Linked DNA regions of Homo sapiens: region 2 is linked to region 1. Evidence: promoter capture Hi-C in human tissues and cell types (Jung and others, 2019). All regions are on one chromosome and are shown on one strand. Each heading gives the region's core, a stretch centred on a gene start or on the middle of the fragment in contact. The rest is flanking DNA. Distances are from core to core; before and after follow the strand shown.

What was found. Contacts are between HindIII fragments. The study calls those that stand out against the background at their distance.
Region 2: a contact is called between a fragment that was not itself captured here and the fragment with the promoter of KRTAP1-1 in region 1, in 2 of the 25 tissues and cell types used here (bladder and spleen).

What each region holds. Positions count from the first base shown.
Region 1 is chr17:41,039,684-41,042,981 of GRCh38, forward strand. It overlaps KRTAP1-1 (keratin associated protein 1-1), which reads right to left and starts at 1,767. Exons shown (of 1, transcript NM_030967.3): 1 at 858-1,767. The coding sequence starts at 1,714. The coding sequence ends at 1,181. The HindIII fragment of the contact is 12,161 bases long and covers 1-3,298 here.
Region 2 is chr17:40,855,127-40,858,424 of GRCh38, forward strand. All of the region lies in intron 1 of LOC105371777 (a long non-coding RNA gene), which reads left to right. Among named protein-coding and RNA genes, the nearest start is that of KRT12, 10 kb to the right of the region's middle. RefSeq lists an enhancer at 1,871-2,165. The HindIII fragment of the contact is 6,754 bases long and covers 1-3,298 here.

The DNA.
Region 1 (3,298 bases), core at 517-3,016:
GATGGGCATGATGGACAACCATTAGAAACGTGATTGGACAAAAAGAGTATGATCTAATGTTAGTAGAGTGAGTGATGAAACCTGTCTGTCAGATCCTTCTTGGTCTCTCTATGCAGCCTTCCTTCCTCCAGGGCATGGGGCAGAACCTCTTCTGAAATGGGGATCTTATGACCTACAATCAGGCAAGGTAGGTAGGAGAATATCTTGATGGCCAGTGCCAAGAACAGTGGGGGAAGATTCTTGCCTTGAGGAGTAAAAGGAGCAGGTGAAAAGAGGTGGGGAGAAGGCCAGAGAGAGAGAGAGAGCAAGAGCAAGTGAGTGAGCGAGAGCGAGAGAGAGAGAGATTCTGTTTTCTGAGGCCTGCTTCTGAAGTGTAAAGTGCCCTAACATCAATAAAAGGGCTATGGGAGTTATGAGCCTAGACCTTGAATGAAATGTGTATATTCGTTACATGCTATTACTCTGTAATCTTGTGTTTGTATTCTTTCACAATTTTTATTATGCTTTTGTATATCTTGGAGGACAGAAATAATTGTATACAACCTCATATATGAATGGATGAATGAATAGATTTGGCAAAACCTCAAGAAGCTGAATCAATCTGTTGGAATACCTAGCCCACCACTTTGCACATGAGAGGACCTTAGGAAACAGTTCCTAAATGTTGTCAAGTTCCTTTAATCATATGTCTTGGCTGCAAAATATTGGACCATTTAATGGTAAAACAAAGGAAAATTGCTGTTAAATATCATCATTAAAAGAGCAAAAGTACAGAAAAACCATAGTGTCATGTCATGTTGATATTTTGAAAAATCCCAGTACCCCAATATTGTTAATAAATTCCAAAGCAAAGAAAGTTCAAACAACAACTTCATCATTGAAGAGATGAAAACTTTTATTAAATTTAAGTCCCAATAACTGTTGAAATATTTCAGGTGATATTTATAGTAAAATAGTATCTAACTCTTTTCACATTGTAGGACTTTGGCTGACAACCAGGTCTAGGAAAAATTTTTGGTCTTCCATTGTAAATGAATTTACTTCCTAGGGAATTTATGTGGCTGTGTGATGAGAGGTTGCAAGCCCAGTTATAGGTACTGGAGTTCAGAAGATTGTTAGGATTCTAATTTGGCTAGTTTTAAGGTGCCATCTTATCAGGATCCCCAGCAGAAGGAGGTTTTCAACAAGTGGGCTCAGAGCAGTAGCAGCAGCAGACTGGGCGGCAACAGGACTGTCCACAGTAGGATGGGCGGCAGCAGGAGGCCTCGGCGTGGTGCAGCTGGCAGCAGGATGGGGGTGTGCAGCTCACCACGCAGCAGGGGGGCAGGCAGGTACCCTCCACACGGCAGTCTGGGCGGCACCACCTGATACGGGTGCTCACAGCTCCACTGCTGCCCTCCTGGCCATAGCCAATGCCACCACCAATGCCACAGCCAGTTCCGCAGGAGCTGGTCTGGTAGCAGCTTGGCTGGCAGCAGCTAGTTTCACAGCAGCTTGGCTGGCAGCAGCTAGAGTCACAAGTCCCACCGGTTGAGAAGCTAGGAAATCCACAGAAGCTGGTCTGGCAGCAGCTTGGCTGGCAGCAGCTGGTCTCACAGCAGCGTGGCTGGCAGGAGCTGGTCTCACAGCAGCTTGGCTGGCAGCAGCTGGAGCCGCAGGTCCCACTGGTGGAGCAGCTGGGAAATCCACAGAAGCTGGTCTGACAGCAGGCCATGGTGTCAGGAGTTGATCTGAAGGTTGGGTTGCTTGGAGGAGTTTCTGAATTATGGCTGCCTATTCCACTGCCGGCTTTTTATAAGTCTGGGCCAATTCCTCTATTTGTGGCGAGCAACATTTTTATCTTGTTACTCTTTAAACCAGCCTTTCTAGGGCCCTCTGATGGTTCAAATGCTGAATTGTTTTAAATATATCTCAAAATTGATTTTTCCTTATTGCTCAGCTAATACTCACCAAATGTGTTTGTCCTTGGTAAAAATGTTAACATTTTGTTTACAAACAATGGTATAATTTCCACTTGAGCTTCAGCTTCAGGTTTGCACTTGTGGGTATATCACCTGACAAAGTGACTCTCACCCATAAGGTGATGTGATTTTGGAGATCATATTCACCAAACCTCAGGTCTCCAGAAAAGAATTATTAATCATGATTGCCCTTATGTAAGACTGCTTTGTATTTTTTAGACTAATAAGATTATCCTCTCTCGATATAATCTTATTAGCCAGATAGAAACTCTGATAAACTCTATATTCATAGAAATTCATAGATTTTTCCCTGAAATGGAATCTTTCCAATTTCTGTGATATCTCCTGAACTTCACATTCATATTTTAGGAAACATTGATCACTCAGGAGGATATATAAAACAAAACCTGTTCAATTTCAATGTCTCTTAAAAAAGAGGCTAAAATTCATATTCAGTAATTGGAAAAAATTGCAAAATATTTTAACAAAATTTACACTTCTCTATGAAAGACAAAAATCACTTGTATATGGATTATCTGGCATATAATTTTTCAAAGGCAGAATTTAATTTTAATTTATGTCATTTCAAGTTACTAAACCATGTGTCCTGTGAAAAGATATTAGACCAAAGAGCATGACAACTGAATTTAGGAAAGGGAATAAATCAAAGAAAAAGCAAGAGTTAGAAAATACTTTTATCTGCTTTATAAGGCAGGTTAGAAAATGGGTGACCAAATATAGTTCAAGAGGTGTAGTATAATAAATGCAAAGAGATTAAGAAAAATTTCAGCAAAATAAAAGTTAAAACAATTCCTGGTCATTGCCAGAAGAAAGAATGTAATTTTCACTGGGAGTTTAGGGTTACGTGAGATAAATGAAAAAAGGCTGGTCAAAAACATATTATTTCTACTTGGGGTAGGTTTATTTCTCCCTTCCAATCATGAATAGAAACACATAGTTAGCTTTTTATGAGGTGGTGGCATTTGTTTGTACAGGAATGGGGTTATATCACAATGTGATTCATGCCAGCTTCAGTAAAGATGTTCACGTCATATGGTAACCATGACTGTAGGTATGAAGTTGAAAATGGTTATATGTAATCAATGAATGTTGGAGATCAAAAATGTAGTAAATTATCTTGTTCCACCACTTAATTTTATAGGTGTAGAAACTGACATCATTCTTATTATAAATAGCACATATTTATTAACTTCTACTATGCCCAGAGCACTAAAGGCTTATACAGAAAGCAAGATCCCATCTATTTGTTTTGTATCTTGCTCTAGTATAAAAATCAGTGTAGTAGCAATAGGAGGGATTAATCAAGGAAAAGAGTT
Region 2 (3,298 bases), core at 234-2,733, 180 kb before region 1:
GCCACTGCTCCCAGCCCCAGTTTTTCTTAATTTATTTTATATACTCTGTATTTAGTTGTAGAATCCTCCCCTTCAATTTGAGCAGCTACATTAATATTAGCATTTTAGACAGGCACCGTGGTTTGCACCTTTCATCAGGCATCTGACATTTGACTAAAATGGCAGTAGTCTGAGGTGGGAGGATCACTTGAGCCCAGGAATTTGAGGCTGCAGTGAGCTATGAGCACACCATTGCACTACAGCCTGGGTGACAGAGAGCGACCCCATCTCTGAAGAAAGCACATCTTATAGTTTCAAAGTGCTTTATGGCTTGTTAAGCTCCTTCACAGAAGTTGGCTTATTTGATGCTCACAACTTGTGATAGAGGGAAGATAAATATTATTCCCCCCTCCCCATATGTTGGGTGAGAAAAGTGCACTTTTTTTTTTTACAAAAGTGGAATAATTTAGGATTGTGCATGAAGGGAAGAAAAAGAATAAATATGTCTGGGGGAAATATGTAAACCAGTTCATTTCTTTAGTTGTAGAGAGACTTTTTTTCTTTGCATAATAATAGCAGGTAATATTTAGTGCTTACTATATGCCAAGTGTGAATTGACCCATAGAATTCTCATAATAGGGCGTGAAGCAGGTATCCTTTTTTGCCTTGATTTTAGGGAACAGAGAACTATGGAACAGAGAGGTAAGTAAAACCATTAGAAAGTGCCAGAGCTGGGACCCAAACTCAGGCCTTTGAACTGTGCTTTTAACCTCTATGCTCAGTGGTGTACTGGTGTAAAACAGTTTTCTGGGAAATACATTTTAAAAGCCCAAGTTCCATTTGTGTAAATACTCCCATCATGGCCAATTTCAAGCTGCCCATGGTTTAATAGCCAGCTTGGAAAATTCCTGAATATTTACTGATCAGTGATTAAGAGCCAGCTTGCCCTAGGACACCTTTGACGATCCTACATGGCCTCTCTGCGCCTGTGGACAGTATCATCTGAAGAAAGAATATTCAATTATTATTTTAAAATTGACTATTGAGTTAATATTTACTTACAATGAAATATATTCGTTTTAAATGTGCAGTTTGAAGAGCCTTGCTAAATGGACCCATCACCACAGTCAAGATACGGAACACTTCCATCGGTCCCAAAGGTTCTCAGGTGCCCCTTCCAGGTTAACCAGTTAATTCTCACTCCTCCCACACCTTTCAGCTCAGGTGACCACTGAGCTTATTTCTGTCACTATAGATGAGATTTTATCTTTCTGAAAGTTTCATATAAATGGAATCATACAGTATGTATTCTTTTGTGTCTGGTTTCTTTAGCTCAGCACAATCTTGGATTCAGTTCCAAGATTTAAGAAACATTTACTACCCCATAAAAAAATCATTTACTCAGCTATATGATTAAGAATTTCATTTTCATTTGATATTTGAGTATGTTTTTAAAGCCTGAGTAGTTATTGATTGGCTGGTTTTCTTAACTCTAAATAATTGCTAACTTTCTTTTTCACTTTATGCCTTGTAGAACTGCCTCCTTACTGGTGAACTTTTTGGAAACTAATTATTAGTTAAATAAGACAATTTTAATTTGCTAAGTTGATCGTTGTAAAAGGTTTGCTTTTTTTCTTCTTTCTTGTTTTAAAAGATAAACCTTCTAGTATCAATACATCTCAAGTGGCTTGAACACACAGGCTTAGCTTATTTTTATTTTATTTTATTTTATTTTTTGAGACGGAATCTTGCTCTGTTGCCCAGGCTGGAGTGCAGTGGTGTGATCTTGGCTCACTGCAACCTCCGCCTCCTGGGTTCAAGCTATTCTCCTGCCTCAGCCTCCCTAGTAGCTGGGACTACAGGCGCACGCCACCACTCCTGGCTAATTTTTGTATTTTTAGTAGAGATAGGGTTTCGCCATGTTAGCCAGGCTGGTCTCGAACTCCTGACCTCAAGTGACCCACCTGCCTTGGCCTCCCAAAGTGCTGGGATTACAGGCATGAGCCACCGCGCCCAGCCAGGTTAGTTTATTTTAAAGTTCATTTCTTGAGACTCCAGAAGATGGCACTCTTACAAAGCCTAAAGAAATAAAGCTTTGGCTTTGTTTTTCTACGTGGTTGTTTTTCTAGGTGGTTCCTTCCTGCTGTGACCCATTTGCAAAGCCATTTGTTTGGGAGAATAACATTTATTTTTTTTTCTGATTATCAGAGTCATATATGCTGTTTGTTAAACATTTTAATAAAGGTATTCTTCAAACCCCTTGCTAATCCCCAAGAGATAACTACTATAACAGTTCAGTATATATACAGTATTTTCCAGACCTTCCACTAGCTTTTACACACAACATATGCATATCAAAGTAAAAATTTAAATTTGTAAAATTTTAGATTTTAGGATAATCATAAACAATGTACTTGTCTTTTGCTATAGGATTCTTTATTCAGTTTTTTTTTCTTAGGAGTTCTTTTCTTTAAAGACAGACCTTCCACTTCTGCAATTCATTACTTGCCGAGTCCAAAGGGACCTCTCACATCTGTGTTGAATTAGGGCTTGTGGCCTAGTGAATGAGGGATAGACTCTCATGATAAGGATGCTGCTATGGTCTGAAAGTTTTTGTCCCCCCATATTTGTATGTTGAGACCTAATCACCAATGACCCAGTATTAGGAGGTGGGGTTTTCGAGAGTGGATTAGGTCATGAGGGTGGAGCCCTGGCGAAGGGGATTATTGTCCTTATAAATGAGGCCCTGGGGCATTGCTTTGTCCCTTCTGCCATGTGAGGATATATCGAGAAGCTGTGTATGATCCAGAAAGCGGGTCCTTATCAGACAGTGAAGCTGCCTCCAGAACTGTGAGAAATAAGTTTCTCTCATTTTTAAGCCACGCGGTCCGAGGTATTTTGTTCTAGCCGCCCGAAGGGACTGATAGATGCTGTGCTAGTTGCATTTCTTGTCAGTGAGAACAGGGCAAAGTGAAGTTACATAATAAGAAATGTAATGCTTCCTTTGCCAAGTGAAGACTTATAGGATATTTTGGCCAAGATAGTATCAGAAAAGGACTATTATTTGGGTCTTGCTGGCTGTGCCATGAAATCCTAGCCATTGGAACTTCAATGGGAAATTTTGTGAAATCACGAATTTTTTTCAGATAGTTTTTTCCCCCACGATATAACCCTGCCGGTAGCTGACTTCCCCAAGAGCATATAGTCCAGGAGACCAAGGAAGAACTGAAAGGCCTTTGTGATCTATCTTTGGAGGTCATATACTGTCACTTCTTCAATAAATCTGCTCCTCGTTCATTGTGAGAAGGAACTACACAAG